Regions from separate parts of the Homo sapiens genome. Here region 1 is linked to region 2. Evidence: promoter capture Hi-C in human tissues and cell types (Jung and others, 2019). All regions are on one chromosome and are shown on one strand. Each heading gives the region's core, a stretch centred on a gene start or on the middle of the fragment in contact. The rest is flanking DNA. Distances are from core to core; before and after follow the strand shown. Region 1 overlaps UBASH3A (ubiquitin associated and SH3 domain containing A). Region 2 holds the start of TFF2 (trefoil factor 2).

Region 1 (5,051 bases), core at 2,255-4,754, 71 kb before region 2:
GGTCTCAAGTCCCCACATTCTCATAAAACCAGCAGTAGCTCCCACTCCTCCACCGAGACCCGTCCAGAGCCAGGAAGGGCATCTTTTCTTCTGCATCTCAGCATCTGCGTTACACATGATCTTCTCACACTATTACCTGCCCTGTCTCCATCTATAAACTATGGCAGGTCCAGGCCAATTTACTTTGCATCTTCTCAAGCTGTCAGATGCCATTAGATAGGAAATGCACACTTGAGTTGATCCTAAGTAGACCAAGAATATAGATAGTCTCATTGGAACAATCGACAGTTTCCTCTTCAAATTAACATGCTCAGAGCAGTGAGGCACAATTCATAGCCCCACATTAGCACAGGAAATATTGGTTGGTTTCCCCTTCCTGAGGGCAAGGCGAGGGCACCCACAGCCTCCCTGCGGCTCGCTCTGCAGACAGTAGGGCTTTGCTATCAACTGATGACATCTGTGAGGTTTACAGAGAGAAACGGAGTGCATTTTGCTAGTCTTTCAAATGAAATACAATCAAGATTATGCTGTGAACATGGGTGACGGAAGGAGAAAGAAAAGAGCTTAGCATTTTCACATTTCCATTTTTCTCTTTGACTTAAGAGAGCCTCTTGACAGTAACTTACACCATGAAACAGATGTGTTTGAATTCTCCCTGGTTCTTAAAAGGACATAGCTGCCATCTGGGGGTTGCATCACTACGTCCCTGTGTTCATTTCCTGGGGCGGCCATAACAAAGTCCCACAGCTGAGCGGCTTCAACGACAGCCACAGATGCCCTCATAGTCCTGGAGGCTGCGAGTCTGAGGTCAAGCCACCATTGAGGCTGGTCTCTCTTGAGGCCTCTCTCCTTGGCTTGTAGACAGGTACTTCTCCTCGTTTCCTCACAGGCTGTCCCTCTGTGTGTGTCTGTGTCCTCATTTCTTCTTATAAGGACACCAGACATATTGGATCAGGGCCCACTCTAATGCCCTCATTTGAACTTAGTCACCTCTTTAAAGACCCTGTCTCCAAATAAGTTCACATTCTGAGGTGTTAGGGGTCAGGACCTCCACATATGAATGTTGGCAGAATGCAATTTAGCCCTTAATTGTACCTTTCTTATGTCTGAGATATTTGCTGTAAACTTGCTCTGAGGTTTTTGAAGTAATCTGCTGTGTCTGTCTTCAGTGTTGGGAAAGTCCTCATCTTGACTGGGGGATGGCACTTATTCTCCCGAGCCCTCACACTCAAGCCCCCCTGTTGTTTGTCCCACAGGGGTGCTCCCCTCTGCTCTCCTGGACAGAGGATTGGAAGCTGCTGTGGTTTGTGAATACGGTCCTCCATCACCAGTCTCTCCAGGCCATCTCTGATCTTCAAAGCAATGGACAAACATTACAGTGTGATTTTGCGGTAGATAAGTCCAAAGAATCCCTGCACCGTCTGGCACGGAGGCTGAGGCTGGGGTCATTATAGTGGTGATGGGTGACTGGTGTGTTAATTGACAAGTACTATTCATCAGAGCTGCAGACTCTTACCTGGAAAGGTGCCCTCTGTGGCGGGCAGGGGGATTCCTCCTGGTGCGCCTGCAGGTCTGTTTCCAGGCACTCTAATGCCAGTGGTTCTGCTGCTTGGATCGTGCAAGTGTGAGTCCTGACCAGGGCTCGTAGGAAGTAATTATTCAACATCTGCACAGCTATCTGTCAGTCCGTGGGTCAGCTGGCCTCTGGACATTGCTGTCTGACCCCATTTTCCACTAATGAATATGTCAGTGATGTGTGGAGACATTCAAGGATCATTTTCCGATTTTGAAAGCTTTAGATGTTTAATAAGGATTTTCAGCAGTTTGAAAAGATTTAGCCAGCACAGTGGAGTCCAACAGCTCCCGTCATCTGCCTCACTGGCCCATAAGCACAGATCACAGCTTGTCAGGGTGTCTTGATGCTCCCCCAGCCACAATGAGGGTGCTTCCAAAGCAGGACCAATCAGACAACCCACAGCACCTAGCCCAGTGCTTATTTCTCTTTCCTTTCATTGCAATTTTTGTTAATACTGATTAATTCTCAAGAGAAAGTTCCTCTGGAAAGAATAGTCCCAGAAATGTCAGGCATAAAAGCTGGAATGGTTATGTTGATGGCAGGTGTCTGATGTATTAATTGTGAAGTGAAAAGTATCATAGCCGCTGACTCATCTTCTGCAGAGTCTTTGTGGTTCCTCTGTGACTGTGAAACTCTCCCATCCCGGGCAGAGAGCGAAGGACATGCTAAATGATGCGGGGCCACAGGGGAGCCCCAACCCTCCTGAAATTGAGATGGTTAGTTAGGGCATAGCCAGCATCTCCTCTCTATTCCTTAAACTGTTGATTGGATCAGGTGGTGAACTGAGCTTGCAAGAAAGCAAGAGCTTCCTTGATTGTACAACGTCACCTGGCCTCCTGGGCCCGAGTCTTCTCACCTCTCAAGCAGGGGAGCTGCCTTCGGTTATCTCTACAATCCCTTGTGGCACCCACATCCTGTGATTTTGATGTGGCCCCTGGACCCACGGACATGTCTATGTCAGCAAATTGTGTTTCTCCTGAACCGCTGGTCTGCACGCATCTGGGATGGCCATGACTGTTGGTTGAATGTGTGTCTGTTTTCTCACTGGATGTGGGAAAGCTCGGAGCTGGGAGCTCACAGCGCACGCCATGGTATGGACAAACCTCAGCCCTGGCTTTGTCTAGCTTTTCCACCTTTACTCTCCCTTTGACCCAGCTTTCTTACATTCTCTTCTTGAAATTTAAAATGGATTAATTTATGTTTTGAGTAAGTAATGCATTTATATGCTTCATACATTTAAACATTATGAAATGGTCGTGTTTGAAAAGACTCCCTCCCATTTCTGTTCCATTCTCCTGGCTCCCACTCCCAACACCCACCGGTAACCATGGTTAGAAGTTTCTAGACACTCTCCCTTCCAGGGAACCTTTAGGCATACACATGTATAGAAATACATATTGTGCACATGTATTTACAGACAGTTATGTGTTTCTCTCCCCTTCCCCCACAAGTATATCATGCCATACACATCGTTCTGCAACTTATTTTTTTCATTTATCAATAAATCTTGCATATTTTTTCAAATCAATATATAAAATTCTCCCTTTTAATTATTTTAAAGCTGCAAATATTTTATTGTATGGATGTGTCATAATTTAATTTATGGACTTATTTTTAAATTTTAATGATCTCTTCTATAGGCAGTTGAGGTCATAGTTGAAAGCCCAAGCGTGGGATTAGGTATAAGACTGGAATCCGGCTTCCTCTGCTCACTTGCTGTGTGAACACAGGCAAGTGAGTTGATCTCTTTGTGTCTCAGTTTCATCAACTATAAAATGGATCAATAAAAGTGCCTATCCAGGGGGTATTGGAGAAGTAAATCAGTTAGTAAGGGAAATGCATGGCACAGAGCCAGGCACAGGGGGTGATGTTAGTGTGCAAAGCTATTGGACATCTCTTAAGCTGCCTTAAAATAGATTTAAGTGGATTAGGAGTCAACACATCAATAAATAAAGACGTGTGACTACGGCTGCATTTTTCATCCCACATTTGCATTTTGTGGTCCTAAGTTCTTATTCATTAGGGTAAGAAGTTAAATGGCCTCAAGAGAAGATGATATGGAATGTCATGTATGCACAGCTGTGGGGCTTTGGCTGGAATCTGCTCTCCTTGAATGTCAAGTGGCTATTATGTTTAGTGGGGGAGCCCAGGGACATAGGTACTGTCCCTGGCTTGTTATACAAATCTCAGTGTATGAATAATTAGCAAAAAGAAATATAATACTTAAAGAAATCAGCCATAGTCACCAAATCTCCTTTTATAAATATTTCAGACAATACTTCCATTATTTTTACTACTATTTCTTGCAAATTCTAATCATTTCACCAAGAGCTTCTATCAGGTACTATTAAACCATCTTTTCTTTTCTTTTTTGGGGGTTTGGATAAAAATGACCAATATGCAATCATTTATTTCAGCTCTTCAAAATACGTTCTTTCTTAATTTACTTAAAATGCTAGTCTTATCCACACAGAGGCTTATCCATATAGCCTCTGACAATTTTTAAGCAGCTTTTAATGACTACTCAAATAAAACGTCACAATTTTCATAGTTTTGCCATGTGCATGAATCTCATTAGGAAGGGTACAGAAAATAATTCCCTGGATGTATAGATGCTGGAAATAGAAGTCCACAGCAAATGTCCAGCACAGATCTGAAAATCTATAGATTGAGTAGATGCTGATACATCTGTGTTCAACTTAATGATTTATTTATTTGTCAGGGTGGTGAGGGGAACCCTAGAGAAGCTGTGGAGCATTTTAGGAGAGAATTAAACAAATGAGTGAAATATAAAATGGTTTTAAGACCTCCTGCCTGGAGACAGAGGGATGGCCACGATGGTGTTTTTCCAGGCTCTCTTCCCCAGCCACACAGCTCTGAAGGTGCCAGGAAGCCCAGAACCACAACATAGGGTTTTTCTGTGTATTTCTGCCCTTCTCCTCCCACTCTCATCATTCAGTTGTTCCAACCATCAGTCTTGACACCTGCAAGAGCTCCACCCCAACAGGCACACCCATGAGGCTGAGCAGCTTTTCTCTTTTTTCACCATGTGTACTCTGACCTCTGCCTGCTCTCTCCACTCTCCTAACTGGAACCTGGGAGAAGAGAGTGAAAAAGCTCACAAGAGCCACCTTAACACTTTGCAATGGCTTTATGGTGTGGCAACTTGGCCAGACTGAACGACAGTTCCTAGACTTCCTTTTTAGCACATGTCTGATCAGGGTGGGCTACAAGAGGCATTCTCATGAGAGCTGGAGGATGGAAGGGAGGCAGTAGCCATCCTAAGCATCACACACAGCCTTCCTAGCTATCCCATCAAATGCTAGTCTAGGTGCTGCTGGAAGGAGATTTTACAAATGTGACTAGAACCCCTAATCAGTTGAGCTTAAATTAATCAAAAGCAAGGTTATTCTGAGCAGGTCTGACTTATGCAGTTGGAAGGCATTTTTTTTTAAAAACTTAGGCTTTCCTCACA
Region 2 (5,731 bases), core at 2,115-4,614:
GAACTAATACAAGCAGTTAATTTACTTGCAGGTTAACTTGATTCCTGCAAGACTTGTTTTAAAGTTTTGTTCGAATGGATTTTGAGTAGCTTTCCTCTAGAAAGATCAGCCTTCTTTTTACGGCATGGCCTTTATTGAATGCTTGAAGTGGTCAACACCTCTGGCTGCTCTGAGCTCAAATGCTTTCCAGCCCCACGAACCCTACACTAGTTGTTCAGTTTAGCCTCCCCAGTGATTGTTCTGTCCCCAGGGGCTACTTAGCCTGGCCTTGTGGGCACGAACAGCATAGTATTTGATGAAAAGCTCAAAGGACACACTTTTATATTTCTGGAGCTTCCTTCTCTTACCTTGATAACCCGCCTGCCTCAGAAGCTTCCAATTCTGACCTCTGTCTCCTCAGCCCGATGGGACTTCAGTGCTATTTGGGTTCCCCTCCCTGTGCTGTAGTCTGGAGAGCGTCTCCAGGAAACCAAGGCAGCCATGGGACTCCCCCTATTGTTTCCCTTCTCTCAGGGATCGCTGTCTGGCACTGCCTGCTGCTCAGCATCTGCAGACTGTTACTTATGTAGTTTTAGAGTTACTCATGGTGGGAGGCTAGCCTGGTACCAGTGACTCCATAGTCAAAAGCGGAAGTCCACATGGGTGATAGCTGAGGTGGTTCCCATTTGTTGACTTTCTATGTGAACTGATGGAAAGTATCATCCCCAAAGTGTGCAAAATGGAAGTGAGCAGGGGTGGAGAAGGATAAACAGAAAGAGGAGGGCGCCAGCCCTGAGTGCCTGGATGGCGCTGAGATCATGCGTTGAGAGTGGCAACAATTCAAGGTAGGTGTCGGCCATGCTAGGCAGATGGCATAGGCACAGAGACAGTGGGAAACAGCAGTGAGGAAGACGGTGGGTGAAGTGAGCACTGTGGAAATCAGGCTGGAGAAGCAGGAAGGAAGGATAGACAGGAGGGGGCTCACAGGGGAATAGGGGATTGGAGGGCTTTAGGATTCAGACAAAGGGAGAATGTTAGGAGCTTAGGACATCCTGGGCAGAAAGGACATTTGCATACCCTCTTTCAGAGGTGGAGCTCAAGTTCTGAGTGTGGTCATGGGAGGGTGGCAGAAGTGGCAGAAGTGGAGTGGAGATGGAAGTTCCTAGAGATGAGGAAAAATAAAATCTGAGCGACTGTGAATTTTGATGAAACATCGACCGCCATGTTGAAGATGGCTGGGATGTGGCCAAGTCTTAGCATGACAAGGAACACAGTGAACTCAGTGCTGAAATTCTTAACGAAAGGGACAGGCTGCACAAAGGTCGGCAGATGACAGCAGGGCAGGGACTCCGGACATGGCGCCCTTCCCAGCCTGCATCTCCAAGGAGGATGGTTTTTGCATGAGGGTGAAGACTTGGGGCTCAAAGTCAATGTCCAGCCCCCAGTCTGAGCCCATGTGATGGGGACGTGGCCACCAAGTACAGTTGTGGAGGTTGTGAACAGCTCCACTTTCAACTAGCGATGCCACTCTATTGCAGACGTCCCATCTCGTGTAATGGTTTCCCAACTCTGTGGGCACTCAGTGTCCCTGCGTGGGGGCCTGAGCAGGATTCCAGGGAAGCATGCCTATGACAACACAGGCTTCCGCCAGGGCCAGGAGAGTGAGAGAGGCTGAGAAGTGGTCTCTTTTGCATGGGTCAGGTGGTCGCAGCAGGAATCCTGAAGGGGCTGCAGTGAGCGGTGGGAAGTCGAGTTGATGGGGAGGAAGCAGAGAGGAGAGGTGGGTGGGAATATGAGAGAAAACAATGACTCAGTCACTTATATCATGATGGTGACTAAAGTGACAGGGATGTAGAACAAGGAAACTGACCTTGCCAGAGTTTTCATGGATCGAGTCCCTGTGGTTGCCCAGTGGTGAACAGTCAGCAGAGAGCCTGGAGGTACTTGACCCGGACCCAGAGGAGCCCTGGAGGATGGAGCCTGGAGGACGGGGGCCTGGAGAATGAGGGTCTGGAGGACGAGGGTCTGGAGGAACAGGGGCCTGGAGGACGAGGGTCTGGAGGAAGAGGGCCTGGAGGACAGGGGCCTGAAAGATGGGGGCCTGGAGGATGAGGGTCTGGAGGATGAGGGTCTGGAGGAGCAGGGGCCTGGAGGATGAGGGCCTGGAGGACAAGAGCCTGGAGGACAGGGGCCTGAAAGATGGGGGCCTGGAGGATGGGGCCTGGAGGATGGGGGCCTGGAGGACGGGGGCCTGGAGGATGATGGCCTGAAGGATGAAACCTGGAGGATGGAGCCTGGAGGATGGAGCCTGGAGGATGAGGGCCTAGAGGATGGGGGCCTGGAGGACAGGGGCCTAGAGGATGGAGCCCTGGAGAATGGGGGCCTGGAGGATGGAGCCTGGGGGACGAGGGCCTGGAGGATGGGGGCCTGGAGTATGGGGCCTGCTCTCCAGACCCTGAGGACAGCCCCGTGGTGGACCAAGGATTTTGGGTTTCCTGCGTCTCTGGGCCCCTGACTGCTCAACCATCAGAAACAGACTGGCAACCCCCTGTCATTTCCCTGGCGTGGGGAACTTCGGGTCCCCTCTGTCCTTCCCACCACACTTTTCCCTCTTTCTTTCCGGGTGTCTACTCTCTGGCTTCTGTCTTCTCTGTCAGGTCCACAGAATCCTTCTCCAGCACATCCTACCCCAGGAAGGCCATGGGCTGGGTCCCAGGTGCCATCTTTCAGAAGATGTAGAGCATTCCCATGGAACAAAAATAACCCATTTCAGGGGTTGGCTGAAAATGAACTTATTAAAACCTGCCTGTCACAGGCTACTCCGCTGACCCTGTCAGCCTCATCTCCATGGAGAGCAGCCCCTCCTGCTGAAGATGGGACAAAGGGCATCGTGCTGCGGTTGGGGAGGCTCTAACCACAGCCCTGGGAGCAGTCTCTTACCTCCTCTGAGATGCTTCCCTTCCTCAGGGAGGGGACTTTTCCATGCTATCTGCTGGCCTGTACATTTTCCCCAGTAAACTTGGCCCTAATATTTTCTAAATTCCTGTGGTCCCTGCCCACTCTATCAATAGAAATGCATAGCTTATCCCTTCCTGGGTGTGACCCTGTGTGTGCCCAGCCCCAGACCTGCACGTGGCCGGTTTTCCACGCTGGCAGCCTGGCATGACCCAACTCTCTGTCCAGGGCAGGAAGAGGTATCACCGAGCAGGGAGAGAGTCACCCTGGCCCGGAAGCCTCGCCTGCACAGGGCACAGCTGCCTCTTGCCTCCTCTTCGCCTCCACGGTGGAAGGGCTGGGGCCACGGGGCAGAGAAGAAAGGTTATCTCTGCTTGTTGGACAAACAGAGGGGAGATTATAAAACATACCCGGCAGTGGACACCATGCATTCTGCAAGCCACCCTGGGGTGCAGCTGAGCTAGACATGGGACGGCGAGACGCCCAGCTCCTGGCAGCGCTCCTCGTCCTGGGGCTATGTGCCCTGGCGGGGAGTGAGAAACCCTGTAAGTGAAGGAGAGGGTCTTTTTATGTGCTTTCTTTATTTCTCTTAAAGAAAAAAAAAAAGCACAACCATAAATTAACTTGAGAGGGGGAATGGCTATAAAGGCATCTGGCAATGTGTGTTGTTCACATGGGATTTGCCACTGCTCAGGAGGGTGGCTCCAAGAAGGGCCTCCCTCCTAGGGAAAGGCTGAGTGACGGCAGGTGTCAGCGGGCCCCGTGTCGGGCCAGGAGGGCATTCCCACCAAGGGTCCTTGGAGTCCCAGAGCACTCACCTCTCGCCTGGATCTTGGCCTTGGGTCCATCTGTTCACCCTCCTCTAGGAGGGTTTTGTTTTTGTTTTTTTCCGAGACAGGATCTGGCTTTGCCGCCCAGGCAGGAGTGCAGTGGTGTGATCTTGGCTCACTGCAACCTCTGCCTCCCAGGCTCAAGTGATCCTCCCACCTCAGCCGCCTGAGTAGCTGAAACCACAGTTGTGGACCATCATGCCCGGCCAATTTTTTTTTTTGTATTGTTTGTAGAGATGGGGTTTCGACATGTTGCCCAGGATGGTCTTGAACTCCTGAGCTCAAGCAATCTGCCCGCCTCGGCTTCCTAAAGTGCTGGGATTATAGGTATGAGCCACCATGCCTGGCTTTTTTTTTTTTTTCCTTTTAAACTAATATAACAATTTCAGCAAAGCCCTATCGGCTTCTCAGGAGGAAACCGCATTGCTTAAATATGGGCAAGATAAGACTTTGTGTTTCTCTATGTGGCAACAAGACAGTAGAGGCATCCCCTAGAACCTCTGAGAGAAGGAGCAGTGTGGTCTGGGGTACCAGGGTGGGGCCGACTGAGGGTCTTTCCACAGCCCCCTGCCAGTGCTCCAGGCTGAGCCCCCATAACAGGACGAACTGCGGCTTCCCTGGAATCACCAGTGACCAGTGTTTTGACAATGGATGCTGTTTCGACTCCAGTGTCACTGGGGTCCCCTGGTGTTTCCACCCCCTCCCAAAGCAAGGTAATCTTCCAGGGAATCTTCCTGGGCCAGCAGCTGGCAACCCAGGACCCAGCTTCACAGGCGGAGCCCAGAGCAGGGGCCGGAGGAGGCCCAGTTGCTAGTCTAGGGTTAGCCTGGGTGGGTTAGTCTCGAGCTAGCCCCGGTTGGTTAGTCTGGGGCTAGCCCAGGTTGGTTAGTCTAGAGCTAGCCCAGGTTGGTTAGTCTGGGGCTAGCCCAGGTTGGTTAGTCTGGGGCTAGCCCAGGTTGGTTAGTCTAGGGCTAGTGTAGGCTAGTTAGTCTAAGGCTAGCCCAGGTTGGTTAGTTTGGAGCTAGCGCAGGTTGGTTAGTCTGGGGCTAGTAGCCCAGGTTGGTTAGCCTGGAGCTAGCCCAGGTTGGTTAGTCTAGGGCTAGCGTAGGCTGGTTAGTCTGGGGCTAGCCCAGGTTGGTTAGTCTGGAGCTAGCCCAGGTTGGTTAGTCTGGGGCTAGTAGCCCAGGTTGGTTAGTCTGGGGCTAGCCCAGGTTGGTTAGTCTAGGGCTAGTGTAGGCTAGTTAGTCTAGGGCTAGCCCAGGTTAGTTAGTTTGGAGCTAGCACAGGTTGATTAGTCTGGGGCTAGTAGCCTAGGTTGGTTAGTCTGGAGCTAGCCCAAGTTGGTTAGTCTAGGGCTAGCATAGGCTGGTTAGTCTGGGGCTAGTAGCCTAGGTTTGTTAGTCTGGAGCTAGCCCAGGTTGGTTAGTCTAGGGCTAGCGTAGGCTGGTTAGTCTAGGGCTAGCCCAGGTTGGTTAATCGGAGCTAGCCCAGGTTGGTTAGTCTGGAGCTAGCCCAGGTTGGTTAGTCTGAGGCTAGTAGCCCAGGTTGGTTAGTCTGGGGCTAGCCCAGGTTTGTTAGTCTGGAGCTAGCCCAGGTTGTTTAGTCTGGAGCTAGCCCAGGTTGGTTAGTCTGGGACTAGCCTGGACTGCTAGTCTAGAGGTAGCCTAGAGGACTGCTAGTCTAGAGGTAGTCTAGGGCTAGCCCAGGTTGGTTAGTCTGGGGCTAGCCCATGTTGGTTAGTCTTAGACTAGCCTGGACTGCTAGTCTAGAGGTAGCCCAGGTTGTTTAGTCTGGTACTAGCCTGGACTGTTAGTCTAGAGGTAGCCCAGGTTGGTTAGGTTGGTTAGTCTGGGACTAGTCTGGACTGTTAGTCTAGAGGTAGCCCAGGTTGGTTAGTCTGGGACTAGCCTGGACTGTTAGTCTAGAGGTAGCCCAGATTGGTTAGTCTGGGACTAGTCTGGACTGCT

Evidence for each region. The method cuts DNA at HindIII sites, captures the fragments that hold promoters and counts their contacts. A contact is called where the count stands out against the background at its distance.
Region 1: a fragment that was not itself captured here is called in contact with the fragment with the promoter of TFF2 in region 2 in 9 of the 25 tissues and cell types used here (H1 embryonic stem cells, IMR-90 fibroblasts, adrenal gland and 6 more).

The regions. Positions count from the first base shown.
Region 1 is chr21:42,420,751-42,425,801 of GRCh38, reverse strand. All of the region lies in intron 7 of UBASH3A (ubiquitin associated and SH3 domain containing A), which reads right to left. Among named protein-coding and RNA genes, the nearest start is that of UBASH3A, 19 kb to the right of the region's middle. RefSeq lists an enhancer at 2,356-2,625. The HindIII fragment of the contact is 5,669 bases long and covers 670-5,051 here.
Region 2 is chr21:42,348,627-42,354,357 of GRCh38, reverse strand. TFF2 (trefoil factor 2) reads left to right here and starts at 3,364. Exons shown (of 4, transcript NM_005423.5): 1 at 3,364-3,479; 2 at 4,328-4,477. The coding sequence starts at 3,401. It overlaps LOC105372815 (a long non-coding RNA gene), which reads right to left and starts at 2,065. Exons shown (of 3, transcript XR_937755.3): 1 at 1,057-2,065. The HindIII fragment of the contact is 10,226 bases long and covers 1-5,731 here.